Regions from separate parts of the Homo sapiens genome. Here region 2 is linked to region 1. Evidence: promoter capture Hi-C in human tissues and cell types (Jung and others, 2019). All regions are on one chromosome and are shown on one strand. The core of a region is centred on a gene start or on the middle of the fragment in contact, and the rest is flanking DNA. Distances in the headings are between cores, read along the strand shown. Region 1 holds the start of MPV17L2 (MPV17 mitochondrial inner membrane protein like 2). Region 2 has its middle 10 kb from the start of UNC13A.

The links. The method cuts DNA at HindIII sites, captures the fragments that hold promoters and counts their contacts. A contact is called where the count stands out against the background at its distance.
Region 2: a contact is called between a fragment that was not itself captured here and the fragment with the promoter of MPV17L2 in region 1, in 1 of the 25 tissues and cell types used here (hippocampus).

Annotation. Positions count from the first base shown.
Region 1 is chr19:18,190,010-18,196,666 of GRCh38, forward strand. MPV17L2 (MPV17 mitochondrial inner membrane protein like 2) reads left to right here and starts at 3,209. Exons shown (of 5, transcript NM_032683.3): 1 at 3,209-3,459; 2 at 3,855-4,025; 3 at 4,768-4,844; 4 at 4,949-5,077; 5 at 5,990-6,657. The coding sequence starts at 3,273. The coding sequence ends at 6,046. RefSeq lists a silencer at 2,734-2,913 and an enhancer at 3,304-3,353. The HindIII fragment of the contact is 8,354 bases long and covers 1-6,657 here.
Region 2 is chr19:17,695,292-17,701,948 of GRCh38, forward strand. No RefSeq gene overlaps it. Among named protein-coding and RNA genes, the nearest start is that of UNC13A, 10 kb to the left of the region's middle. RefSeq lists a silencer at 6,068-6,295. The HindIII fragment of the contact is 6,509 bases long and covers 1,028-6,657 here.

The DNA of each region.
Region 1 (6,657 bases), core at 1,959-4,458:
TTTGTTTGTTTGTTTGTTTGTTTGTTTGTTTTTTGAGACGGAGTCTCGCCCTGTTGCCAGGCCGGAGTGCAGTGGTGAGATCTCGGCTCACTGCAACCTCCACCTCCCGGGTTCAAGCGATTCTCCTGCCTCAGCCTCTTGAGTAGCTGGGACTACAGGCGTGTGCCACCGTGCCCAGCTCATTTTTGTATTTTTAGTAGAAACGGTGTTTCACCGTGTTGACCAGATTGGTCTCAATCACTTGGCCTCATGATTCGGACGCCTTGGCCTCCCTAAGTACTGGGATTACAGGCCTGAGCCACCTCGCCCGGCATTGATCAGGTTTTTTTTGTATTGTTCTGTTTATTTGTCCCACTTTACGAAACTCACTGTTCTCCTATTGCCCAGGGGGACATGTCATTTTATCTATTCTCAGTAACTCATGCCTGTAATTCCAGCACTTTTGGATGCAAAAGTGGGCGGATTGCTTCAGTACAGTTCAAGGCTAGCCTGGGCAACATAGTGAGACCCTGTCTCTACTAAAGAGGAAAAAAAAACAAAACCTTTCTTTAAATAAAAGTTTTAAATTGGGGGAAGGAAGGAAGAAGGCTCTATCTCAAAAAAAAAATCAGAAAACCATGAAGGGTGTCCTCTGACTGGGCAAATTTTTGTTGTAAAAACCCATATTGTAGGCTGGGCATGGTGGCTCACTCTTGTAATCCCAGCACTTTGGGAGGCCGAGGCAGGTGGATTTGAGATCAGGGGTTCAAGACCAGCCTGAGTAACATGGTGAAACCCCGTCTCTACAAAACTACAAAAAATAGCTAGGCATGGCGGCGGGTGCCTGTAATCCCAGCTACTCATGAGGCTGAGGCAGGAGAATCGCTTGAACCTGGAAGGCAAATGTTGCTGTGAGCTGATATTGTGCCACTGCACTCCAGCCTGGGCAACAGAGTAAGACTCCGTCTCAAAAAAAAAAAAAAGCCATATTTCAGTTTTACTTTTTACAGGCCAACAAATGGCATGATTGTGTTTCAATGACGTTTGGCTTATTCTATGACCTGAAAATTATATGAAATGCAAATTTGTGTCCATAAGTAAAACTTTATTGAAACACAATCATGCCATTTGTTGACAAAAAGAGTGAAACTCTGTAAAATATGGGCCGGGCGCGGTGGCTCACGCCTGTAATCCCAGCACTTTGGGAGGCCGAGGCGGGCGGATCATGAGGTCAGGAGATCGAGACCATCCTGGCTAACACGGTGAAACCCTGTCTCTACTAAAAATATAAAAAATTAGCCGGGTTTGGTGGCGGGAACCTGTAGTCCCAGCTACTCGCCAGGCTGAGGCGGGAAAATGGCGTGAACCCGGGAGGTGGAGCTTGCAGTGAGCCAAGATCGCGCCACTGCACTCTAGCCTGGGCCACAGAGCGAGACTCTCTCAAAAAAAAAAAAGAAACTCCGTAAAATATTTAAAGAGGTTAATTCTGAGCCAAACGTGAGTGACCACGGCCCTAGGCACAGCCTTTTTTTTTTTTTTTTTTTTTTTTTTTTGAGACAGTCTCGCTCTGTGGCCCAGACTGGAGCTATCTCGGTTCACTGCAACCTCCACCTCTCGGGTTCAAGAGATTACCCTGCCTCAGCCTCCCGAGTGGCTGGGATTACAGGCGCCCACCACCACGCCCCTGGCTAATTTCTGTATTTTTAATAGAGATGGGGTTTTACCATGTTGGCCAGGCTGGTTTTGAATTCCTGACCTCAGGTGATCCAGCTGCCTCCGCCTCCCAAACTGTTTGGGATTACAGGCGTGAGCCACTGCGCCTGGCCAATCCCCACCTTCTTGACTGACCATTTAAAAAATGTAAGAAACACCTTTAGCTCATCATGAGCAGCACAAAACAGGCAGGGACAGGATTTGGCCCTGAGGCAGGAGAATAGGTCTGGAGGCAGGGAACATAAGGCCAAATCAAATGGAAACAATTCAGCTATGACAGGAAATATCTTCTCCATTTAAAGAGGGCATACATCCAGTAAATGACTTTGTAACTTTACTTCATCCTCTTCATTTACATAGGACGTACATTAAGTAACCAGTGAAAACCTCTAGAGGGCATTTAAACCCCAGAAAATTCTTAAACAGGTCTCTTGAGTCCGTATGCTCCACTGGCTCCCACCCTGCGGAGTGTACTTTCGTTTTCAATAAATCTCTGCTTTTGTTAAGCTTCATTCTTTCCTTGCTTTGTTTGTGCACTTTGTCCAATTCTTTGTTCAAGATGCCAAGAACCTGCACACCTTCAACAGTTAACAGCCCACAGGCAGTAGTTTGCGACTCTAGTAGAGAATGCATAGGGATTTCCATTGAAAATCATTTTTTAAGCCAGTTACGGTGGTTCACGCCTATCATCATCCCAGCACCTTGGGAGGCCAAGGCGGGTGGATCTCTTGAGGTCAGGAGTTCGAGACCAGCCTGGCTAACATGGCAAAACCCCTGTCTAGACCAAAAATACAAAATTAGTTGGGCGTGGTGGCCCGTGCCTGTAATCCCAGCTGTTTGGGAGGCTGCGACACGAGAATCGCTTGAACCCGGGAGGGAGAGGTTGCGGTGAGCCGAGATCGCGCCACCGCACTCCAGCCTGGGTGACAGAGCGAGACTCCATTTCAAAAAAAGAAAAAAAATAATTGTTCCCTACGGGAACGGTATAATTAGGATATAATTGTTTCTGGCCACAGATCACATCCCTTCTGGTTAAGTCCAGGAGAATCTGGAAATACGTAGGGCAACCAGGCCAGAAGGCGTTGTAACTGCCTAAGATTGACCAACCCTAACGCGGGAGGCGGGACGACGGTCACTGATTTGCCAGCGTGACGCCGGTCTGCGACTGGCCAGTGCCGTCCTGGGCGTGTCGGTAGGACGGGGCTGCGACGGTTTCCCATAGGCTGGCACAGAAAGGGGCGGGGAAACAAGAGTGCAACGTTACCAATCGGCATGCGGGACGTAACGCAATTCTTTTTTCCGATTGGTCCGTGAAGCTCGGGAGGTCGTTGGGGGCTCGACCTTGGGATAGAACGCCTGCCTTTTATTGGTCAATACTCTTCGGGCCGGGCAATGTGGCTCCCCGAGGCTGCCTGCGATTGGTGAACGCGTCGCGGCTCGGGGCGGACCTGCGGACTGAAGATCCTTATGCGATTGGCCGGGGAGCCGGAGGGGCGGGCAATTTGGGATCGACAGTGACTCGCGACTGGTCGGCGCGGCGAAAGCAGAGCGGCGCGCCGGTTCCTTGGTTCCTGAGGGCGATGGCGCGGGGTGGCTGGCGCCGGCTACGCCGCCTGTTATCCGCGGGGCAGCTTCTATTCCAGGGCCGCGCGCTGCTCGTCACTAACACGCTGGGCTGCGGCGCGCTCATGGCGGCCGGTGATGGCGTGCGCCAGTCCTGGGAGATCCGCGCCCGGCCCGGCCAGGTTTTCGACCCACGGCGCTCCGGTGAGGACGCCACGCTGCTTAGTCCTTCACCCCGGGCGACCTTTGATCCCGACACCCGACTGCGGGCCGTGACCCCTGACCCGTGGCCTCAGTCCCCCGCAGGACCCTTGCCCTGACCGCGCCTCTCCCCGGGTGTCTGTCTCCCCGCAGCTCTGGGTCTCCATCACCTCCCAACCCCCGGAGGTCTCTGCCCACTACCCAGGAGCCTCTGGAGCCGCGCCTCCTGGTGGGGCTTGTAGTGGAAGAATGCACGGGTGGGCTCTTCCGGTTTTCCCGGTGAGGCTGAGGCTCCGGGATGGCATTGGGCTTACCCAGGCCTTAGCCAGGGAGGGAGAGAGGGAATGGACTGAGGAACTTGCCGGCCCGACCCAGCCCCCTGACTTACACTCTTATAGCGAGCATGTTTGCGGTGGGCTGCAGCATGGGTCCCTTCCTGCACTACTGGTACTTGTCGCTGGACCGCCTATTCCCTGCGTCTGGCCTCCGAGGCTTCCCAAATGTCCTCAAGAAGGTCCTCGTGGATCAGCTGGTAGCCTCTCCATTGCTGGGCGTCTGGTACTTCTTGGGTAAGGAGCCTCCTAAGCCTAGGCTTTGCCTCTCATAGGTCGGGAGGGGTGGAGCCAGCTTTGTGTTAAGAAGGATGCAGAGGTGCATTTCCAATTTGCCCCCTGTTTGGGTCGCCCTGGACTAGGAGCCAGGTCACAGCGGGGACAGGACGGACTCGGCCGATGTGAACGCTGGCGAGTGTAGGAGGGACGAGGACTGTATCTGTTGGGGCTGCCCTGGGCGGGAGGTTGAGAGCATTTCCCAAAGAAGGGGACCACACTCAGTTGAGACATGAAGAGGGAACCAGCGGGCAGAGGGAACAGCTAATGCAAAGGCTCTGAGGCCTGAAGGAAGAGAAATTGAGGCTAGACTTAATGGGGTGCAACCGTGCCAGCCCTAGGCTCGGTAAAGACAGCGGTATTAATAGAGGAGTCTCTCATTCTCCACCTCCCAGCCCGGCTTCCTGGTCTGTGATGGAAAAGTAACACAACTCCCTCAACTTCAGGGTGTCTCCATTGGGGCACGTGTTTATATGTTTATAACCTCTCTTTCTCTCACTGGGACTGACTTGCTCTGTTTTGTCTCTACACCAGCTACCCTAATTCTCTGTCCATCCCATCTGAAAGTCCCTGTCCCTCTGCCCGGGGTGGGCGGCGTGGGCTCTCAGGGGCCCAACCCCGCCCCCTCCATCGTCAGCCCATCTTGTCGTCTCAACAGTACTTCCTGGCCTCTAACACTCTCATTTCTTGGTTTGCTTCCCAGGCCTTGGCTGCCTGGAGGGTCAGACAGTGGGTGAGAGCTGCCAGGAGCTGCGGGAGAAGTTCTGGGAATTCTACAAGGTGGGAGCACCCGCCCCTTGCACATGTCCGGCCCCGCCCCCTGATGGCCGCTCCGCCCCCGCCCAGCTCTGGCCCCGCCCCTCATCCCCCGCCTCTCCCCGCAGGCAGACTGGTGCGTGTGGCCTGCTGCGCAGTTCGTGAACTTCCTCTTCGTGCCCCCCCAATTTCGAGTCACCTACATCAACGGCCTGACGCTGGGCTGGGACACGTACCTGTCCTACTTGAAGTACCGGGTGAGTGTGGAGGGCATACCAGGCACCCAGGGGACTCCCCAGGGGGCTACACGTGTGAGCTCCAAGTGGCAGTGTAGCCAGCCACCCTGGAGGGTGGGAGTCTCCTGTGCTCCTGACAACCCACACCCAACAGTGGGCTGGCGGAGAGCTCCTCACTAGCAGTTAAGACCCAGCCGTGGCTGAGCGCCGTGGCTCATGCCTGTAATCCCAGCACTTTGGGAGGCCGAAGCGGGTGGATCGCCTGAAATTGGAGTTAGAGAGCAGACTGGGCAATATGGTGAAACCCCTTCTCTACTAAAAATACAAAAAATTACTGGTACGCACCTGTAATTCCAGTTACTTGAGAGGCTGAGGCAGGAGAATTGCTTGAACCCAGGAGGCAGAGGCTGCAGTGAGCCAAGATCATGCCACTGCACTCCAGCCTAGGTGACAGAGCGAGACTCCGTTTCAAAAAAAAAAGACCCATGCCGGGCGCGGTGGCTCACGCCTGTAATCCCAGCACTTTGGGAGGCCGAGGCAGGCGGATCACGAGGTCAGGAGATCGAGACCGTCCTGGCTAACATGGTGAAACCCTGTCTCTACTAAAAATACAAAAAAAAAATTAGCCGGGCGTGGTGGCGGGCGCCTGTAGTCTCAGCTACTCCGGAAGCTGAGACCGGAGAATGGCCTGAACCCGGGCAGCGAAGCTTGCAGTGAGCCGAGATCGCGCCACTGCACTCCAGCCTGGGCGACAGTTCGAGACTCCGTCTCAAACAAACAAAAAGACCCAACCCTTCTCTGCTGTCTGATGTGACCTCAGCCCGGTCCCTGCCAAGTCTGTTGAGCAGGGCTGACCTCTGGCCCAAGGGCAGGTAGAGGGACAGGGAGGGATGAGCCAGGCTTCTGACCAGATGCCTTGTCTTGTGTGGACAGAGCCCAGTTCCTCTGACACCCCCAGGCTGTGTGGCCCTGGACACCCGAGCAGACTGAACTGTCTGCTTCCTGGACCAGATGCAAGACTGTCTCCTGGCGGACCACCCCCTCTGACAGAAGGGGAATGGGCTCCTGCAGCAAGCTCGGGTCTTGAGCCACGTCCCAGCACCACTTCAGCTCCGGAGCATTGGGCTGAGCCGCCCTTTCCAAGCTCACTTCTGGGACTGAGTTTCCTCAACCGGAACACACCCATGAAGATGGATGATCATCCCCTAGCCCTTCTCAGCAGGAACCTCATGCGACCTGTGACCAAGATGTCCCATCCTCAGCACAGGGCCCACTCTGCCAACCAGTCTCAAGCACCAGCCCCTCAACACTGCCATCCACCTGGCTCTGGGCCAAGCCACCAATCCAGAGCTCCCTCAGGTCCTGGGACTAAGGCGGGGACATGACTGATCCCCTCAGAGCAGGCTCAGGCCTGGAGTCGGCCCCCAAAAGTTTCACATAGGGCCAGGCAGCCTCTGTGTTTCTTTCCCTGGTCCTGAACTGTGGAAATGCCATTAAACTCTCTCTATAATGTAACTGAAACTGCTGGCTGGGCGCAGTGGCTCCCACCTGTAATCTCAGCCCTTCCCGAGGCTGAGGTGGAAGGATTGCTCGAGGCCAGG
Region 2 (6,657 bases), core at 3,032-5,531, 490 kb before region 1:
GAGAGAGAGAGAAAGAAAGAGAAAAAGAAAAGAATAGAAGAGAAGGAAGGGAGGGAGGGAGGAAGGAAGGAAGGGAAAGAAAGAGAGAGAGGGAGAGAGGGAAAGAGAGAGAGACAGAAAGAGAGACAGAAAGAGAAAAAAGAGAAAGAAAGAGAAAGAAAGAAAAGAAGGAAAGAGAGAAAGGAAAGGAAAGAAACAAAGAAAAAGGAGGGAGGGAGGGAAGGAAGGGAGGGAGGGAGGAAGGAAGGAAGGAAGGGGAAAGAAAGGAAAGAAATCATTTTCTGCCCCAGCGTCATAAAGATCTTCCCATACGTATTCTACATTTTTTGAGTCTTGTCATTTGCAGTCATGTCTTGACTTCTCTTGGAACTGATTTCTGAGTGTGGAGTAAGATAAAGTCCAATCGCATATTTTGTCCATGGGGATGATCTATTGTCCCAATACCCTGTAATGAAACTCACAAAGCAAGTTTTCATGCATGTGTGGATTTAACAGCAAGCATAGACCAACCAGAAGTCAAGCAGTGCTGCTGGATGTCTGCCCACCTGGAAGTCTGGTCTAGGATCTCTCTTCTGTCCCAGAGGCTGATCTATTCCTGGTAGAAGCTTTGTGCTAATCGTTTACATCTGCCAACACCAGTCACTCATCTTGCTCTGCTTCACAAGCATCTGACTTATTCTTTGCTTTCTTCTCAGCTTTTTGGGTTGCATGGAGAAACTCAGTTGGGACTTAGATTGGAATTGCATTGAATCTATAAACCAAATCAGGAGAATGAGCATCTTTTGTGATTGAATCTTTCAAAGTGAACATACAGTGAATAATTCCATTTATCTATCTTTCAGCAAAGCTTATAACTTTGGGATTTTTTTCTAGATGCTTTGAGTATTTGGTGCTGTGGATAAGTGGCCTATTTATTTGGGGGACAGGGTCTGACTCTGTCACCCTTTCTGGAGTGCAGTGGTGCAATCATACCTCATTATAGCCCCAACCTCCCTGGCTCAAGTGATCCTCTTGCCTCAGCCACCCCAGTAGCTGGGACTACAGGTTTATGTCACCATTCTTGACTAATTTTTTATTTTTTGTAGATACGGGGTCTCCCTATGTTGCCCAGGCTGGTCTTGAACCCCTGGGCTCAAGCGATCCTCTTGCCTCATCTCCCAAAGTGCTGGGATTACAGTCGTAAGCCACTGTGACCAGCATCTATCAAGCTTTCTCAACTTTTTGTAAACCCAATAATTAGATGTGCACATTCTTTGGGAGTTTATTGCGTATGAGGATGTTATCTGCAAATAAAGACACTCTTTTTTTTTTCTTTTTCCTTTTTTTTTTTTTTTTTGAGGCAGGGTCTCGCTCTGTCACCCAGGCTGGAGTACAGTGGTGCGATCTTGGCTCACTGCAACCTCTGCCTCCTGGGTTCAAGCAATTCTTGTGTCTCAGCCTCCCACATAGCTGGGATTACCCTCCCCAGGCTCAGGTGATCCTCCCACCTTAGCCTCCTGAGTAGCCAGGACTACAGGTACACACCACCATGCCCAGCTAATTTTTTTTTTTTGAGATGGATTCTCACTCTGTCCCCCAGGCTGGAGTGCAGTGGCGCAATCTCGGCTCATTGCAACCTCCACCTCCCTGGTTCAAGCAATTCCCCTGCCTCAGCCTCCCGAGTAGCCGGGATTAGAGAAGGGACAAGAGTGAGTCCAGGTCAGGCAAGCCACCACGCCCAGCTATTTTTTGTATTTTTAGTAGAGATGGGGTTTCGTCACATTGGCCAGGCTGGTCTCGAACTCCTGGCCTCAAGGTCTCGAACGCCTTGGCCTCCCAAAGTGCTGAGATTACAGGCGTGAGCCACCGTGCCAGGCCTAAAGACACCCTTAATTCCTCCTTTCCACTCCTCAGAACTTTCATTTCTTGTTTTCTTTAGTAAAATGCGCAGCACCATGTTAACAGGCATTCCTGCCTTGTTCCAATTCTGAAAGAGAATGTTTCAACGTTCATCATTGATCATTTGGATCCAATTAATTTTTAAGCCCTGGTGCCTCATTTCATTCCCACCAACAGCATAGCTCGGCTGATTCGAAAGGTATTGATTTGAGCTGTCTCCTCCTCCCTCCAATTAATTATGCCATGCTGCTTCTGTCTTCTCTTGCCCTCTCTTCTCTGTGGCCCCCTCTTTTTTTTTTTAGACACAGTTTTCCTCTTGTCATCCAGGCTGGAGTGCAGTGGCATCATCTCAGCCTGCAACCTCCGCCTCCCAGGTTCAAGCGATTTTCCTGCCTTAGCCTCCCAAGTAGCTGGGATTACAGGCATGAGCCACCACACCTGGCTAATTTTGTATTTTTAGTAGAGACGGGGTTTCACCATCTTGGCCAGGCTGGTCTCGAACTCCTGACCTTACGTGATCCACCTGCCTTGGCCTCCCAAAGTGCTGAGATTACAGGCGTGAGCCTCCACACCCGGCCGGCCCCCTCTTTTATTTATTTATTTATTTACTTATTTTTGAGACAGTCTTTGTCACCCAGACTGAAGTGCAGTGACAAGATCTCGGCTCACTGCAACCTCCATGTGGCCCCCTCTTAACTTCATTCCCCTCCAGGTGCATCTGCATTTGGAGCCTTTGCAAACCCTGTGTGACTCTCTGTGTCTTTCCATCTCTCTTCTCTTGGCTTCCAATTTCATGCTTTCTCTCCACCACCCTAGGAAACCCACAAAGAAAAATAATGGAAAGAGAAGTGATGGGAGATAATGTACAGGCTGGTGAAAAGTACAACCCCCCCACCTGCAGAGTGAGGCTACCACTGCCAGCAAATGCAGACACATCATTCCTGCCTTGCTGAGCTCCAGGGCTTCCCCAGGGACCCTGCTCTTATCAAAACCTGCCCACCCCCGGTGCCAAAAGCAGCGATGAAAACATCTGGGCTTTAGATGAGAAGAGTTTCACGGCACAGCATCTGTCCAGCTCAGCTTTTGAATGGAGAATGAATGGTAAGAGCTTTTTTTCTTCTTTTTGTGAGATGGTGTCTCACTCTGTCGCCCAGGCTGGAGTGCAGCGGCACAATCACGGCTCACTGCAGCCTCGACCTCCCCAGGCTCAGGTGATCCTCCCACCTTAGCCTCCTGAGTAGCCAGGACTGCAGGTACACACCACCATGCCCAGCTAAGTTTTTTTTTTTTTTTTTGAAATGGAGTCTCTGTCGCCCGGGCTGGAATGCAATGGCGCAATCTCGGCTCATTGCAACCTCCACCTCTCTGGTTCAAGCAATTCCCCTGCCTCAGCCTCCCGAGTAGCTGGGATTACAGGCGCACGCCACCACACCCAGCTAATTTTTTTTGCATTTTTAGTAGAGAAGGGGTTTCACCATGTTGGCCAGGCTGGTCTCAAAGTCCTGACCTCAGGCAATGTGCCCCCTTCGGCCTCCCAAAGTGCTGGGATTACAGGCATGAGCCACCGCGCCCGGCCCCAGCTAATTTTTTGTACTTTTGTAGAGATGAGGTTTCATCGGGTTTCCCAGTCTGCTCTTGAACTCCTGGGCTCCAGCAATCCTCCCACCTTGGCCTCCCAAAGTGCTGGGATTACAGGCATAAGGTACCCGCACCCGGCTGGGCAGAGCTTTTTCTAGCAGCCCCAATCCAAGGCAAACTTGCTTGGTCTTCAGATAAATTCCCAGTCCTTACGGGGTGCATTTGATGTTCCTGGCACTGTGCAAAGCTCCATGGAGTAGACGGATACCGATGAGACGTCAATTTGTTCAGCCAGCGTTTGCTGGTGCCATCTGGATGCTGGGAACTAAGCTTGTCACCAGGTTCTGCCAGGCGACATTGTCCCTAGCATGGGAAGTGGGAATGAACAAGCAGGCAGAGGAAGTCAAGGACGATTATGAGGCGATGGGAAGGGTCTGGTGACAGAGAGGGATGGAAGGGGTGGGGGAATCTGCTTCCCGGAGGAGGCAACACGAGAGCCAAGATGTAAAAGAGGTGGAGCCAGGCAGGGAGAGAGATGAGGGACAGGCATTCACAGGACAGGTGCAAAGGCCCTGAGGTGAGGCTGTGCCTGGTGTGTTGGAGAAGCCGAGAAGGCTTGTGTGAATGAGTGAGGGGGAGAGAGGAAAAGAGAGAAAGGGGACCGGACATGGTGACTCACCCCTGTAATCCCAGCACTTTGGGAGGCCAAGGCGGGCAGATAACCTGAGGTCAGGAGTTCGAGAGCAGCCTGCCCAACATGGTGAAACCCCGTCTCCACTAAAAAATTACAAAAATTAGACAGGGGTGGTGGTGCACGCCTGTAGTCCCAGGTACTCCAGAAGCTGAGGCAGGAGAATCACTTGAGCCTGGGAGGCAGAAGTTGCAGTGAACAGAGATTGTGCCACTGCACTCCAGCCTGGGCAAAACAGCGAGACTCTGTTTCAAAAAAAAAAAAAAGAAGAAGAAGAAGAAGAAGAAGAATAGAGAGAAAGGGAACTGCGGGGGAAGGTCATTCAGGGCCTCAGGGCAGGGGATGGAGAAGGCTCTGGAATTTACTCTGAGATGGACAGACAGAGAGATGGAGAGAGAGTGACTGAGAAGGAAGAAGAGATGGGGGTTCAGCTCTGCAAGACAGGGCTGAGACTCCAGCCCAAGCCTAAGTGGCCACTGAGGTCTTGTTCTAACCCGTGTCTCCCCACCCCCAGACCTCTCTCTGATGCCCCCAACTGCACTGGCAGGGAGTGACCACCTTGAACGGAAAACGGAATCAGAACACTGTGGGCACTCCATAAACATGAGTGAGTCAGTACGTGGTGGAGGGAGTGAGGGAGGGATGGAGTCGGGGGCGGGGAGGGGGGCAGGTCAGCAGGGATACAGACTATGCCAGGCCTCCTGATCACAGGAAAGAGTGTGGGCTATACTATGAGGGTAATAGGGAGCCACGGGAGGGCTTTGAGCAGAGGAAGGGCGTGATCTGCTTTATGATTTTTTTTTTTTTGAGATGGAGTCTCGCTCTGTCGCCCAGGCTGGAGTGCAGTGGCGCGATCTCGGCTCACTGCAAGCTCTGCCTCCCGGGTTCACGCCATTCTCCTGCCTTAGCCTCCCAAGTAGCTGGGACTATAGGTGCCCACCACCACGCCCAGCTAAATTTTTTTGTATTTTTAGTAGAGACGGGGTTTCATATGTTAGCTAGGATGGTCTCGATCTCCTGACCTCGTGATCTGCCCATCTTGGCCTCTCAAAGTGCTGGGATTACAGGCGTGAGCCACCGCTCCCGGCCTGCTTTATGATTTTAAGAATCCATCTGGGGCTCCCTAGGGGAGCAAGGATGGCTGGGGGCAGGAGTGTAGGTGGCAGGGAGCCAGGACAGCATCCACACAAGATACAGCAGGCCCCTTAGGAGCTCAGGGAGGCTCAGTTTCATTCTGGAGCCGGAGACTGCAGGACCTGCTGATGCACTGAACATGCAGGGTAAGGAAAGAGAAGGGACAAGAATGAGTCCAGGTCAGGTGCAGTGGCTTATGTCTGTAATCCCAGCACTTTGGGAGGCCGAGGCGGGAGGATTCCTTGAGGGAGACCAGGATTTTGAGATCAGCCTGGGCAACAGAGTGAGACCCCATCTCTACAAAAATTTTTAAATGAGCTGGGCATGGTGGTGTGTGCCTGTAGTCCCAGCTACTCAGGAGGCTGCAGTGGGAGGACTGCCTGAGCCAAGGAGATGGAGGCTGCAGTGAGCTATGACTGCACTACTGCACTCCAGCCTGGGTCTAGGTGACAGAGTGAGACTCTGTCTCTTTTTTAGTTTGTTTGTTTTGTTTTGTTTGTTTGAGACAGAGTCTCCCTCTGTTGCCCAGGCTGGAGTGCAGTGGCACAATCTCGGCTCACTGCAACCTCCGCCTCCTAGGTTCAAGCGATTCTTGTACCTCAGCCTCCTGAGTAGCTGGGATTACAGGCACCCGCCACCACGCCCCACTAGTTTTTTGTATTTTTAGTAGAGACAGGTTTTCACCATGTTGGCCAGGCTGGTTTTGAACTCTTGACCTCAAGTGATCTGCCTGCCTCAGCCTCCCAAGGTGCTAGGATTACAGGCATGAGCTACCACGCTCGGCTGACCCTGTCTCTTAAAAAAATAAAATAAAGAGGGCCGGGCGCGGTGGCTCACGCTTGTAATCCCAGCACTTTGGGAGGCCGAGGCAGGTGGATCACGAGGTCAGGAGATCGAGACCATCCTGGCTAACACAGTGAAACCCCGTCTCTACTAAAAATACAAACAATTAGCCAGGCATGGTGGCGGGCGCCTGTAGTCCCAGCTACTCACGAGGCTGAGGTGGGAAAATGGCATGAGCCTGGGAGGTGGAGCTTGCAGTGAGCCGAGATGGCGCCACTGCACTCCAGCCTGGGCAACAGAGCAAGACTCCATCTCAAAAAAAATAAAATAAAATAAAATAAAGAGCGTATCCAGGAATCAGGACCCAGGCTACTGTGTGATAGTGGAGGCACCAACAGGATGGAGAAGGGGCAGATCTCAGGGCGAGTAACTATTCTAAGAGCCAGGTTTTGGCCTTGTGAGTGTGAAATGCCTGCAAGGCACTCAGTGGAAATATCCAATGCCATTGGATACTGAGGCCTGGAGCTCTGGGGAGATGCAGGCTGGAGACACCAATGGGATAGTCGACAACACGCAATGAGGTGTGGCTATTT